Regions from separate parts of the Homo sapiens genome. Here region 2 is linked to region 1. The links are contacts of gene promoters, found by promoter capture Hi-C in blood cells and fetal thymus (Javierre and others, 2016). All regions are on one chromosome and are shown on one strand. The core of a region is centred on a gene start or on the middle of the fragment in contact, and the rest is flanking DNA. Distances in the headings are between cores, read along the strand shown. Region 1 holds the start of SLC18A3 (solute carrier family 18 member A3). Region 2 holds the start of ASAH2 (N-acylsphingosine amidohydrolase 2).

What was found. Contacts are between HindIII fragments. The CHiCAGO score rates a contact against its expected background, and 5 or more counts as called.
Region 2: a fragment that was not itself captured here is called in contact with the fragment with the promoter of SLC18A3 in region 1 in 10 of 17 cell types (M2 macrophages, M0 macrophages, fetal thymus and 7 more); the score reaches 16.1 in M2 macrophages.

What each region holds. Positions count from the first base shown.
Region 1 is chr10:49,605,501-49,612,643 of GRCh38, reverse strand. It overlaps SLC18A3 (solute carrier family 18 member A3), which reads right to left and starts at 2,334. Exons shown (of 1, transcript NM_003055.3): 1 at 1-2,334. The coding sequence starts at 1,903. The coding sequence ends at 305. It also overlaps a transcript of CHAT not described here. RefSeq lists enhancers at 1-465, 466-1,362, 2,407-3,201, 3,202-3,997 and a silencer at 5,367-5,661. The HindIII fragment of the contact is 17,270 bases long and covers 1-7,143 here.
Region 2 is chr10:50,246,708-50,253,850 of GRCh38, reverse strand. It overlaps ASAH2 (N-acylsphingosine amidohydrolase 2), which reads left to right and starts at 2,335. Exons shown (of 21, transcript NM_019893.4): 1 at 2,335-2,456; 2 at 5,205-5,367. The coding sequence starts at 5,241. RefSeq lists a silencer at 2,088-2,382. The HindIII fragment of the contact is 928 bases long and covers 2,548-3,475 here.

The sequences.
Region 1 (7,143 bases), core at 1,085-3,584:
GGAAGGAAGGACAGACAGATGCAGGCTCTACACAGGGGAGCCGCAGGTGGGGACTCAGGGTCCTCTTCACCTCCGCAAGGAGCGCGATGGCTTCGCTGGCCTCGGTGCTCCAAGCCCCATTGGACAAGAGAGAAAGGGATATGGAACGGGTCACAGGGAGGGGATTTGGGCAGAAGTCAAGGTTGAGGAGTGGCTGGGGTACTCGCTGGAGGAGGTGGGCCCTGAGCCAGAGCTGGCCAGTGGGCTTGCAGAGCAGCCCCCTTGACCCAAGGCGGTTGGGTGGGCTGGAGGAGGAGTGGGGATGCTAGCTGCGGGTGTAGTAGTAGTTGTAGTCGTCCTCGCACGCATCAAAAGGGCCAGGCGGGCTGCGAGGCTCGCCGTCCTGGCCAGACACAGGACGCTCACGCAGGCGCACCGCATCGTACAGACCTTGCGGTGGCTCATCAAGCAGCACATCGCGCTCGGAACGGGAGCGCGTCAGGAGGCCCACGTTGCGGAGCAGCAGCAAGACGGGAGCATAGAGCAGGTTGGCCAGTCCCATGCCAAGGCTGAGCTGCTCAAAGCCCAGCGAGTGCACAATGTGGCCTGCCACTATGGGCCCGAGCGCGTAGGCCACCGAATAGGAGATGTCGGCGATGGCGTAGACGCTGCCATAGACTGAGACATGGCGCACGTCCACCAGGAAGGCGAGCGTGGGCAGCAGTGCTGTGTCGACTAGGGCTATGCCAAAACAGAGGCCGCATAGTGAGACCACTAGCGGCGCGAAGGAGCGGCAGGCGGGCACGATGCACGAGCTGGCGCCGATCACAGCCAGCCCAAGCGCGCCGTACAGCCACTGCAGGTGTGGGTAGCGCGCCGCCAGGCGCACGGTGAGGTAGACGCCCAGCACATGAGGCACGAAGGCCGGCAGCCAGGCCATGCCCATCTCCCACTCGGAAGCCGCCATCGTATGCTTCATCCACGTGGCAATGGTGGGTTCGAGGAAGGCGAGGGGAATGTTACAGGTGGTGAGCGCGCCGGCCACCACGGCAATGTAGGGGTCTAGCATGAGGCGGTGGATGGGAGTGCCCACTGGCAGGTTGGCCCGAGCCCGTGCAGCCGCCGAGAAGGGTTTGGCCACTGCCAGCAGCAACAGCGCGTCAAAGAGCGACACGGCAGCTAGCACCAAGAAGGGCACGCGCTTGCCGGCGAACTCATAGAGGATGCCCCCGAAGGGCGGGGCCACTAGGCTTCCGAAGCTAATGAAGGCCAGCGCCACGCCCAGTGCACGACTGCGCTCCGGCTCCTCCGGGTACTTATCGGCGATCATGGCTATGCCAGACGTGTCGGCGAAGGCTGAGCCCAGGCCCTGCAGGCTGCGCGCCGCGAACAGCGTGGCGTAGTCCTCGGCGAAGGCGAACAGGACTGTAGAGGCGAACATGACGCCCAGGCCGATCAGCAGCGGCACGTCGTAGCTCATGCGGTCGATGAAGGGCCCGCTCAAGGGGTTCACTAGCAGCTGCAGGATAGCCTTGGAAGCAAACAGCACCCCGATCTTCACGTCTTCGCTCTCCGTAGGGTAGCGGGGCCGAAGGGCTGAGCCCGCTGGCCACGCAGCTGTCGGGGACGCCGAGGTGTTGGCCGTGTAGGCGCTGGCATTGGCCGGAGTGGGCAGCGGCAGGGTGGGCTCCCACACCTCGGGAGTCCGGGTGGGGCCCTCGCCGCCCCCGCGCATGTGGGCGATGTAGTCGGGCACTATGGGCACGATGACCATGTACAGCATGTTGTCCAGTAACAGCGCCACGCACACGATAACAAGCACCAGGCGCCTCTGCCGCCGGGGCTCCTGCAGCGCCGCGCCCACAGCCTCCGACAGCTTGGTGGCCGCCGCCCGGGCCTGGCCCGCAGGTTCCGCGGATTCCATGCCCCCACCCCGATGCTCTTCCGAGGACGCCTCCGCCAGGGCCGAGCGCTGGCGTCCCGCAGTGCAGAGGCGAGGGCACGGGACTTCGGGGAGGCTGTCCTGGCCGAGCAGACTCCCCTGTGCCTCAGGTGGCCGCGGAGCTCATGGCCCAGCGTCCCGGGAAAGGAAAGGACTCCGTCCGGCGAGGCGTTGCAGCTACTCTTAGCCGATCCCGGGACCCGCGGCTGCTGGGCTCAGGGGCGGCCGGGAAGTCGGGCGCGCCGAGGGGCCGGGGCCGGAGACTGGGCGCACTTCGCCCGGGGCGCGCCCAGAGCAGCCCCCGCCGCGCTAAGAGGCCGCCCGCGCTGGCCGAGGGACATGCTGTTGCCGCCCGCCCGCTTGCCCGCCCGTTAGCCCCGCCGCTGCGCTCCCCTCCCCTCGCGTCGGCTCTTGCCTCCTCCGCCGCCTCCTCTTTTTTTTTCCCTTCCACTCGGGGCTGTGACGCGGCGAGTCCCAGCCCCCGAGTGGTGCCCGGGCCACTTACGTCGCTCATGCTAATGCGACGTCGGCGGGGCGGGGGCCGGGGGCGGGGCGTGGCCGGGCAGGGGTCCGCTCTCCAGATGCTCCAGGGCTGGAGGCCCAGGAAGGGCTCTCGGTGTGGAAGTCTTGAACCAGCCCCTGGGATGGGCGTTCCGCGCCGGTAGCTGGCCCTCTGCCCCCCGCCCCCTGCCTGCCCCCCGCCCGCGGTTCTAGGACTCGCGGGGTCAGCGCCCGCTCTTCTCCTCTTGGGGAAGGGGGCGCGGCAGCCGGTTCCTCGAGGCCCCTTGGGAGAGGCGGGAGCCAGAGGCTTGCGATCTCCGCTTCAGCCTGGACCTCGGCGCACAGCGAGCAGGAAGCCCCCGAGGTGAGCCGCCGCTGCGTCCATCTGTTCTCGCAGCTGGATTGTGGAGCCGCGTCCGGAGGAGCGCTGGACACGGACACCCCCAACCCTTTCTCCGACTCCGCCCCCTGGCCCCTTGCACACACACTCCCGCCAGGAGGGGAGGGGAAGGCTCAGCAACTGCCTGGCCTGGCTCTGACCCACCGGCCCCTCCGCAGAATTTCTCGGCCGCGAATCGCGGCCGGGAGCTTGTGGGGACTGAGGGCAGAAGTTGCCGCGCCCCAGTCGGGGTCGCGAATATTAGCCTGGCCGCTGCCGCCCTCCCGCACTGCCTGGCCACATTCCCCTTGCCTGGAATCCCCCTTTCTCCTTTAGCGGTCTGGTCCCCCAGCTCCGCCTCTTCTCTCCCCGCCGCCGCACCCCCTCCCCACTCTAACTCCTCCCAGGCACTCTTCGCACCCGACCAAGCCCTCCCTCGGCTCCTGCCAGCCTCCGCCCCCTGTTCTGCACACTCCCCCATCCCTCATTTTCCAGAGCCTCCTCCAAGCCCCGGGTGGGCTCTGGAGTGACTGTGGCTGGGGTCCTCTCTTGGAACTGTAAGAAACCCTTCTTGGGTGCCGCGCCCACTCCCCGGAGAGCGCCCAGCCGCTTCGCTGTCGTCAGGGGCTCCAGGGAGACTCACCTTCCTTCTGAGAGGGCCGCACCCCTTGAGGCGCCCGTGCTCAGCTGACAGGCTGAGCTGCCCAGGCTGTGCGCTGGGCCTGACGCGTCCCCAGAGCGGCGTTGACCCTGGATGGCACATGGAACCCGTGTTCCAGTGGGCGGACTGGCGGGAGAGAGGCTCCAGGGCGGCTGAGGTTGGAGGTGGGGATTGTGTTGTTGAGATTACGGTTTGCGTCTCTCTTCCAGAGTCAGAGGGGAGCCTTCCCATTTTTCTGGCCTCAAAAGTAAAGCAGCATTAGACGCAGATGCTTCTCCCATTGTGCCCCCCACCCCGCAGGAAGTGCCGCGATGCAGTGCAAAGAGTGTGGTCTTTCGAGGCAGACAACCAGGATGGCTCCCAGCTCTGCCACGTACTCATTAGAGTACCTGCAGGGAATTACTTTGCCTCTCTGTCCCTCAGTTAGTTTCTTTGTAAAATTGAATAATAATAGTACCTACTGCTAAGGGGGCCGGGCACACAGTAAGAGCAGTATAAGGACTTGCTATGTTGTTATCGTGTGTAGAATGTGCGGTTTATCCTCATTTTTCACTTGTGGGTCTTGTGAAGAACAGATGAAAGACACAGGGGGCACTTGGCTAGCTGGCTGATCCCTCTGGCTAGGTGGGCATTGTGACTCCAGGCTCTGTCTGGGTTGGTGGAGGACCCGGAGGGCATTGGAATGTCTCCATCTGTCCCTGAGATGGCTGTAGGATGAGGGGATGGGGACCAATGTGTCAGGGTGAGAGGCGGCAGCCTGGCCACCTGTTGCTCAATTCCTTCACCCACCCAGTCACCCTGGGAAAGGAGAAACTCATCCACTGAAGGGCTGCTGCCACCTGCTCTGCAGTGACTGAAGTGCCCTCTGTCTGAGGGAGGAAAAGAGTCCCAATGTGGGCACAGGCCTGGCCCTGGATGACCTTGGGCAAGTCACAGCCCCTCAGTGGGGCCCAGCCTCAGCCTCCGTCTGGTTCAGGTTGAGGTGAGAGCCCACTCACTGCAGCCCTTAGCAGAAGTGCGTGCTGCAGAAGACTCTTTGGAGTGGGCTAATTATTTTAAATTGTATTTGATGGCCTTTCGTCAGTACATGCACACTCTCCAGCACATCCCAATCTCGCCCCAGCTGACTTCACACACTTATGCCACTTGCTGGTTCTCCAGTCATTTCCGTTTGAGACCTCTGGGCTCTTCTGACTCTCCCATTATGAGGCTCTTAAAGGGGCAGTCTCCCAGCCTACAAAACAATTATTATTTATGCACATGCTATTTCCCCTGTCTGATTAAAGAAAGGAGGAAGGAGGACTTGAAGGACAATTTTTTTTTATGTCTAGTGGCTGAAGAACAGAGGAATCATAGAGGACAGGAACTTTCCCAGGGCCTTCAAGGTGCAGACCACATCTCCAGCCCTCTGGCCCACATGGCTGTTCCTGAGCATGAAGCCAGGTATCTCTGGGCTCATGACTAGCTCTCCAGTCCTCGGTTCCTGTATGGCAGGAGGCACACTCATTTATTACTTGCTTTGTGCCAGGAGTATTGTGTGTGCTGTTTTACTCCATTCTCCTGCAATCCTGGTGCAGTGTAGGTGCTATTCCCCTGGTCTTATCAGGTGAGGAAGCTGGGCGTGGAGATGCTGGGTGCTTGCCCAAGCTCCCAGCAGCAGATCCTGGAATTAAACCCAGGCTGGGGGACCTGTCTTGTGGTCCTCACACTGCTTCCCTATTCCCGGCACGGCGTCGTGCTCCTGCTGCTCCATCTCCAAGGTGGCCGCACGCTGGCAGTGTAGGGGTGAGGAGCAGATCAAGACCCATGGGAGGAGGAAGGTCCTGGGCTGGCTCCCTAAGGAGGCTCCAAAGACACTAAACTCCCTCATTCTCTAACTTTCAGATCAGAGGGCAACGCCCCCCCAATCCATCGTGGCTCCAAATACGGGAGTGCCGGGGTTGCAAGGAGGCGTCAGGCCCCTGCAGCAAAAGGCTACGGGAGGGTCTGAGCCGAGATGGGACCTGGCAAAGCCTCTTCTCCCCGCCAGCCGCCGGGAGCTGTCCAGGGTGCTGGCCCCGGCCCCACCGCAACCAAGAAGCCTCCCACGGAGGCCCCGCCCCTCTGGCTTCCTCTTCACTTGAACGCTTGGTAAATTCCTTTCCGGACTCCTCTATCTGAGCATAACTTGCAGGCAACAGAGAACTTCCTGTCCAATCCTGTAGGAGAAAACGGAAGCATTTTTCTCTCCTTTCTCAACCAGAAATAGCAGCTGTTAGGGCAGCGTTCATATCTGGTACTCAATTAAAGTTGAATGAGTAGAGGAAGGAAGGAACGTATTTACTAGACACATAGTAGAGCTTATAAGGCATCAGGCACCGTTCTAAGCATTTGATAAGCACTAACTCATTGAATTCTCTCACCAACCTTCATATTACTTTCTTATAGGCAAAGACACTTAGGTAAAGTAATGTATTCAGTCAGAGAGCTCACAAGTGGTAAAGATGGGATTCCCATGCAGGTGATTTAGTTCCAGCTTCCTGCTCCCAGCCACCATGTGGCCCTGCTGCAGGATGGCTAAAGACTGCGAGATAGCTCACTTGAACATGTCTAGCCCAATGCTTGATACCTAGTAGGAGTTTAATTGTTATTATTTTATATGGATAGAGACAAATTGGTGATTTCTAGCTGACAACACTTCTTCTCATTTTATCCACAAGATACAACTGTGTCCACAGTCTGATGGACTAAAATTTCTTCCTTGCTGGATCAGTGCCCTGTCAGGGGAGGGGGGCTTGCTGGGGATGGGGGAGTCCTGGTGTGTGGGAGTTTGGGAGGGGTGGAAGGATAGCCATGCTGCACCAGTGCCTGGGTGAGGTCTAGGGGGTGTTTGGAGGTCTTGGGTGGGTTGTGGTGGTGGGGTGCTGCTGTGGATGGAGGTGCCAGCCCAGCCTGGCCTCATTTCTGAGAAGGTTGTGGGGCCATGTCATTTCCAGGGCTTTGCCATTTGTTGCTTCCCTGAAACATCTGGTTCCAGAGAGGTGAAACCACTGTATTTCTGTGGAGAAGCAGGCTGGTGTTGGTGATGGCAGTGTGTGGGTGGGGCACCTGCTCCTGATTTATTATTTCTTTGTCTCTCTGGAAGCACTTAAGCACAGGCTTCGTTCCAATCGAGCTCATGAGCCTCTCTGGATTCCAGCACTGGGGGCTAGGGGTGCAGTTTGCTCAGGGCTCCATAACCCATCCCCTGTGCACCGGCTCAGGCGGGCCTCAGCATCATTTAATTAATTTAGGCTTCCCCAGTCATATATTCTCAGATTCAAAGGAACAAAGTGGCCCCAGTCAGCCTTTCCCAGAAACCTGTGAGTGTGGTGGCTGGAAGCCAGAGGACTACGTGCCTGCCTGCCTGCCCTTGGCCAGCCTGTCCTCGGTGCCCAGACTTGCTTTGTGCACAACATAGCTGGGCTTCGAGAGGGAAAGAGACTGCAGGTGCTGCTTTGTGGGTGGGCCCCAGGGCTCCTCTCTACAGCTCCCAGGGACAGGACCTTGCTCACTTGCTTTTTTTCTGGCTCCCTGACACTAACTATGAATCATTCGTTGGAAGCATGGCCTCCAAATCCCTTTGGTTTCTGTTCTCTCCACTTTCTTTCCGTCTCAATCCAATTAATGTCTCAGATTCATTTCCCTCCTCCATTGAGACCA
Region 2 (7,143 bases), core at 1,762-4,261, 640 kb before region 1:
TTATTCATCAGCTGCCTTTACTTTGTGCTGATTAGTTTTTCCCTCTGTGATGGGGTGTTAAGAGACAGAGGACATAGCTTTGCTCCATCAATTGCTAGTAAGGAGTGAACGCATAGACTTTCATATCCTCAGAGGCTGCCATGCCAAGGTTCAGGTCAAGATGATGTAGACAATTATAATTTGGTGAGAGGCAAAAGCTCTTGTCTAGGAGTCTGGAGACTTGGGCTTACATCCTTGAATACCATTGCTGAATCATGCTCACTTTTAACCACCCTTATGTGTTCTGAAAATTGGTGTCTGTTTCCTCCTCTGTAAAATGGGTAGAGTATGTTTACATGAGTAAATTTTCGGGGGTGTAGTGTGGAGAAGAACAGTTAGCTTATCCTATCTAATTGGATTCATGAGAGGATCATTCCAGACAGAAATAAAATATGTGCACAAGTTAAAATATTCACAGTGACTGTATCTTCATCTCACCCCAGGGGAGTATTGAGTCTTGTTCCTGTCTGTAGGAGTCAGTTGTTTTGATGGGCGCTTGGAATCTTCTCAATTCTCACCCCATTATTGTTCAGTTATGGACCCTCAAATGTAGACTAGGAAAGGTGACACATTATGCCATTGTTGTCTACCAAAACCCTGGTTAAAATAATCTCATCTGTCTAGATTGTGAGTCACTGAGCAGGACTCTGAATGGGCCGTAGCATGGCTCCTTTTTATGATGGGGAAGATGGCTGGGGAAGTCTGGAGGAGACCACAGGGCCAGTCAAGAGGCCTCCCCACTGCAAGGGAGAAAGGTGGGAGAAGGAAATCCAATGGAAGGTCACTAGTGGGTATTTGTTGTTTTTATTGGCTCATCAGCTATAGCACCTTGATTTTATTTTGGAGAACTACTCTTCTCTCTTTGTGAATGTTTTTTTTTAAGATTCCCAGTTAAGTATCCCTTCAGATGAAAGGATAAAGTTATTATATAGCTGTCTTTCAGAAATTGGCTCCTGAGTGGAGCAACACAAGACCTAAAGTAGTTGCAGTCCATCCATCTCAATGGTGATGCCCTGAAGAGATTGTTCGGTAGCTCCTGCTACCTAGATACGCAGAGATGCCCTGATTCCTGGCCATCCTGATCCTGGGTCTGCAGCTTTTCTTGCTGTCTTCCAGTGAATTTACTTTTTGTCTCTTTTTCCCCTCTTTTCCTACCTTAACTAGATTTGGTGTTTGCTTGCAACCAAGAATTCTAACATAAATGCACTAAAAAAACCTTGTTTAATATCATGATTTAATCTTTCTCCCTCTGTAGCAGCAGAGAGAAATTTAAGATGCATTACTAAATGCCCTATCTGAAGGAACTTGTGTCTTTAATACTTCAGTTGGAACTTTGCAGGCCTGTCTCTGATCAAACTCTGCAAGGAATTAAGCGGCTTTTATGGCCTTCTTTAAAATGTGTCCTAGACAGCTTAGATTTTACTAGGGAAAAAAAGGGAATGGGTTGGTTGGTTTCTTTATTGCTTCCTTTGTCTCCATGGTCCATTGTTTAACTTCATGCTGTAGTCTATATTCTCCAAGAGGAAGGAAAACATTTTATTTCCCCATTTCAAAAGTGATGCATGCCTATGATAGAAAATACCAAGAGACAAAACAATGAAAACAAAACCACCCATAATCACCAGATAATTACCTCTTAACATTTTCCTGTACTTACAGTCTTTAATATGTAATATATATAAAGTATATGATGTATATAAAGTAAACATATGTAATGTTTACAAATGGGATCGTATTGTTTTATAAACTTAAAATTACTTAATATTTGGCAATTTTTGCATGTCATTAAATTATTTTCAGTGTGATTTTTAATAGTTGCATAGCAGTCTTGCTGTATTAGTTACTACTCACATTTAGTAAATCTAAAATTTTGCATTCTTTTTATGAGCACTCATAAAAATTGATTAGTTTTCTGTTCTGAAATTGGTGGAAATATTGCCCATTGCTATCCACAGCCCACACTGATGTCCAGCATATATTACTAATCTCTTTGCTGTAGAACGACCAGTGTTAAATGAAGTAGGTGTTTTTTTTGTTTTGTTTTGTTTTTTTGTGATTCAGGTTATAAGCTTTGCACAGAACTTGTCATGCTGGAAAAGTTACAGAAAAAGTGAAATGACCTTCAGTCCAGCAGGCCTTCTGCAACTTCTATCTTTGATAACAGTCTGCCCTAAGAGAGAGTTCATGTATAAGCCTTTTGTTATCAATACTCTTTAATCTCATACTTGTACCAAGCCCACAAAGGTATGCTAATGAGAGCTCTAACACTCCTGGACTTGACTGAAAATTTTTCTCAGTAGGTTTCAGAAAGTGCTGAGAGGTGTAAGCCCAGCAACGTGCAAGGGGAAAGGGGACAGGATTCTGGATGGCCATTTGCTTCACTGGGATGCAAAACCTCTTTTGAGTACTAGAATCAGGTAAGGACAGCTATGTTTTCTTGGGGAAGGAGGGAAGGAGGGCTCTTGAATTATCCTATTGTCTCAGAGATCTTGAAGAGACCCTAAAGCTTCAATTTATCTCATAGCTTTGGAACCCTCTTTTGCCAAATTGTTACCTTTTACTCTCTCCTTGAAAAACAGGGACCCCGTTATGTGAAGATGTGGCAAACGGCTTGCTATTGTGCCATGAGAGCCTCATTACTGAGTTTTCAGGATTATTACAGATTAAGTGTGAACCATTATAAAATCTAGAATCCTTTAAGATATAATTATTGGCTTAGCTCTACCAAGGAGTGTTTCATTCTAAAGGCAGGGAAGGCATCTGCTTTAACATTCAAATTCAGATTTTAATCACCAATGAGAAATAAATAGTGCTAACCCAAGTTTTAAGTTCCTTAAAGGTGGTGGTCAAGTTAGCTAAAGTGGTTCAAAAAGAATGTTACTGTGTTGGCAACAATTCTGGCAGCTAAACAGAATGATGAAACACATGAGGTAGATCATTCAAGTCCACGTAATAGGTGGAAACACTAATGTTAAATCAAGTGCCATTGTTGAGTGGCATAAAATATCATCAGCTCACCAACGCAAAACTAGAAACAAAAAAGAAGTATTATTTTGTACCCTCTCTGTTTGATACACAGGCTTCTAACACATGACCACATTTACATACACAATCTGCCTGTCCATGCTCTGGGGTTGGGAGGTCCAGCTGTCAGTCATCTTGGCTAGTAGGAAGGCTTAGAGAACCAAAGCCCTGAGCAAAAACTAGAGATACTGGGTTTGAAGTTTGCTGGTGAAACAGCTGCTAATGAGTAGTAATTATCTGTAGATCCTTAGAGTTCAGAGGCATGTCTTAGATGTGTTTCCTGACTCCTGGAAACTGACAATAGAAGTTGATCATAAGTCACAGATCTGACTTGTTTTGCTCCACATTTGAAGTTGTCCCTGCTGCTGGTGGTTAAGGGCATTATGGTGGTGATAAGTGGATGAGGAAAGCTTCCCAATAACCAGAAAATTTGGGAAGATGTTCCAGTCTCTTTGCCCACTCCCAGTTCAGCCTACCCTCTGAAGTGTCTGCTGTTAGACTGATCTTTCACCTCTAGCCCAGGAATTGCAAAATCAAATGCTTGCACAGACCAGGTAGTAACTTAGATAAATAAGGCCTGCTGGGTAGAGATTGGCAGGTTGAAGAATATATCCCCCATCTAAAGAGAACAACAGCACTGAGTTTTAGGAAACTCTTGGCACACGGGAATGCTGGCTCAGTGTCATCATATTTTACGAATTATTTTAGGAGATAATTTGAAATTTCAGGATTGTAAATGTAAACTCTTTATAAACTCTGAATGCTATTTTTTTATATCTTGTTACCTAAGTCAAATTGAATAAAAAATTGACTGTACTAAATACATCTACATTGTTGCCATTTATTAACTCTTGGGGGTAGCAGCATCTTAGCCACAAATCCCCTATTTTGGGGGCAAATCCTGGGATTCCAATACCATTTCACCTCTCAGGCTTCCTAAAGCACAGGTTAAGAAAATGGGCTCTGAAGGTCCCACCTGTGATTCCAATCATCCTTTAACACTAGCCTCCTGTAAATTCCCTTAAAGGACAGGGAAGAGCACAGACTCTTTGCTACTTTGGAATCTATTAAAAAATGCTACCAGTTTGAGCATTTATTGAACAAAAGAAGTACTGTTGCTTCATCTCATCTTATTTTTATAAGAAATTTATGAGATAGGTTTTATAAGAACTTTGAGATAAGATGATCATAATCATATTCCTATTTATAGATGGTGAAGCTGATGTTCAGTATTGGGGGAGGATTTCCCAAAGTCATCCAGTAAGTGGCAGAAATGAAATTTGACTGCTGGAGTCAGATTTCAAAACTAAATTTTTAACCACCATATTATATTTCTTTCTATTACATTATATGGGGTTTTAACTTGTATAGTTCCTCTGAGTAATGATTAATTCTCCCTCCCTTAAAACATCTTAAGGAATCTGTAATGACATTTGATACTTTTGTAGAACATAGGAACATTTTAAATTCTCATCCTTTGATACAGGGTTTGCAAAGTGTTTGGGATCCTTCTGATCACTGAAGGGGGATGTTTTTTGTAATGCCTGCCTTCAGACCAGAGGTACTAATTCCCTTTTCCATGCCCATTTCTCACCAGATAGTAATTGAAAGTTAAAACATAGAGTGTAAAGGCCAAAGTTACGGGTTTCACCTCCAGGTGAACAAGATAATTCTACTAAGTCCATGACCACAGAGTACTGTCCTAACCCCAGCCAGCCTTCTCCCAAATACAAGAAGTATGCGTGCATCAGTCATCCTTGTTAACAGAGGCACTCTCAGCCCAGACCCATGTACAGATCCATAAACAGCATCATCGCCATAAATGAAAGCAGTGTGATATGGCTGAGGAATGCAAATAGATTTTAGCTCAGTTGAGCTCAGTGGCCAATGCTAAATCATGAATGGTTGCTGCCAGGAGGAGTGTTGTGTTGAGAAAGATTTGGAAACCACATTCGAGCTTTTCAAAAAGAATGCTGTAATTGATTGGTCTTGTCTGCCATGGGCTTGGTCTATGGAATGAGTGGTAAGTGCTCTGTACTTGTCGTTCTTGGTATAGTCTATTAATATGAAAGAGCTAAGATATCTTAACCTCGGTTGGCTTAAAGCATTTGCATTTTAATTTGTGATTTCTTCCTCTTCAGTATTTCTTCTTCCATCTCTGCTGTACCTGAGAAGAAATGGCCAAACGCACCTTCTCTAACTTGGAGACATTCCTGATTTTCCTCCTTGTAATGATGAGTGCCATCACAGTGGCCCTTCTCAGCCTCTTGTTTATCACCAGTGGGACCATTGAAAACCACAAAGGCAAGTGTCATGGGCTCTCTTAGATGCAATTTTTAGGCCTGTATGAAACTTCTTGATTACTGTGGACACCAAAGAGAAAAACAGTGTCTGCTGATAGTTCTACGTGTACTTAAGCAGCCTGGAATAGCCGTCTCCCTTTGCATTAATTGCCCATTCTGCATTGATAGCAATTTTTATCAAGTTTACCTTTGTCCCCAATAGCCAGCTGACAGGCATTCTGACATGTACTTGTTTGCCATTAGTTTTTCCATTGATCTAAGCACAGCTCAAGATTCGTCAAGGTCTAGTAATGGCAGCTTTTACCATGAGCCTCTAATCTTTCAATTTGCCTCCTTGTAGACATCATTTTCTCCTGGGGGCAAAAGGAGAATGAAAGACTCACTGAATGAATGTCAATTAGTCTGTGAAGAGCTTTAGAGAAAGGGGTCTCAAACGTAAATCCTTACAAGGGCTAATCAAGTTTTGCAGATGAGGTGGAGTGAGGAGGTGGACCAAGGAGGAGACAGGTGCAATTCTTGTGAAGAAGGCCTACAGCCTCTCCCAGGTGGCAGCTGTTTGTTGTAGAGAGAACACATGATCTCAGATCTCCTGAGTTTTCCAGAGAACCTGGAAATTGGAATTTTTAGATATCTCATGATTTTTTAAAATGTTGGAAACAAAGTTTTTGAGAACAACGTAGGCTACATTTACACAAAGATTGGCAGTGGGTCTTGGTGGAGCCTCTGTTCCAGTCAGTGTTAGGTTACATAACTGTTAAATGAGTAGAGAAGACTGGTAAAGATTGAAGCTCTGACCAAAGTAAAGACAGGGCTGGCCTTAGGCCAAATGGAGAAGATGATATTTTCTACCTCAGTTTTCCCTTTTGTAGCCTGTCTCTTTTCCTGCACATTCTCTACTATGTCCCAGGGCTTTGAATTCCTGGCAAACACAGAGGATCAGAGATCCTCTGATCCAGCAGTAGGCACAGCAGGGTCATAGACTGATAGAAGTGAAAGGATCATTAAGAATTATTCAGTTTTGGCTGGGCCCGGTGGCTCACACCTATAATCCCAGCACTTTGGGGGACCAAGGTAGGCAGATCACCTGAGGTCAAGAGTTTGAGACCAGCCTGGCCAACGTGGCAAAACCCTGTCTCTGCTAAAAATTAAAAAAAAAAAAAATAGCTGTTTGTGGTGGTGCACGCCTGTAATCCCAGCTACTCGGGAGGCTGAGGCAAGGCAGGAGAATCGCTTGAACCCAGGGGTCAGAGGTTGCAGTGAGCTGAGATCACGCCACTGCACTCCAGTCTGGGTGACAGAGTGAGACTCCATTTAAAAAAAAAAAAGAAAAATAATTATTCAGTTTTAGCTCTTAAAATTAGGAAATCAGGAGGCTGAGACTCAGGGAGGTTATTATTAATTACAGCAACTATTCTTATGGCAGTAGTTACTGTTTATTAAATGGTTTCTATGTTGAGCACTATAGTGAGGATTCTAGAATATTTTCTCATCTAATTCTCACAAAAATCCTATAAGGGTGGATGCTAGTCCTACTGTTTACATTAGTTTCATTTTACGCTTGGGGAAACGGAGACCCTGAGATTGTAAATAACTTACCCTTGGCTATGTGTTAGGTTTGGCTTTAGTTGGCATGACATTCCTATGCTGGTAGCAGTGAAGCAATAGCGAAGGTGCCTGCTCCACTCCTTGCAATATTTGATGTCTTCAAGAAAATCTCGGCTTGGGAATGAGAAGACATGGATGCTAACTCCACCTAGAATTTGGTCGAAAGAGCATC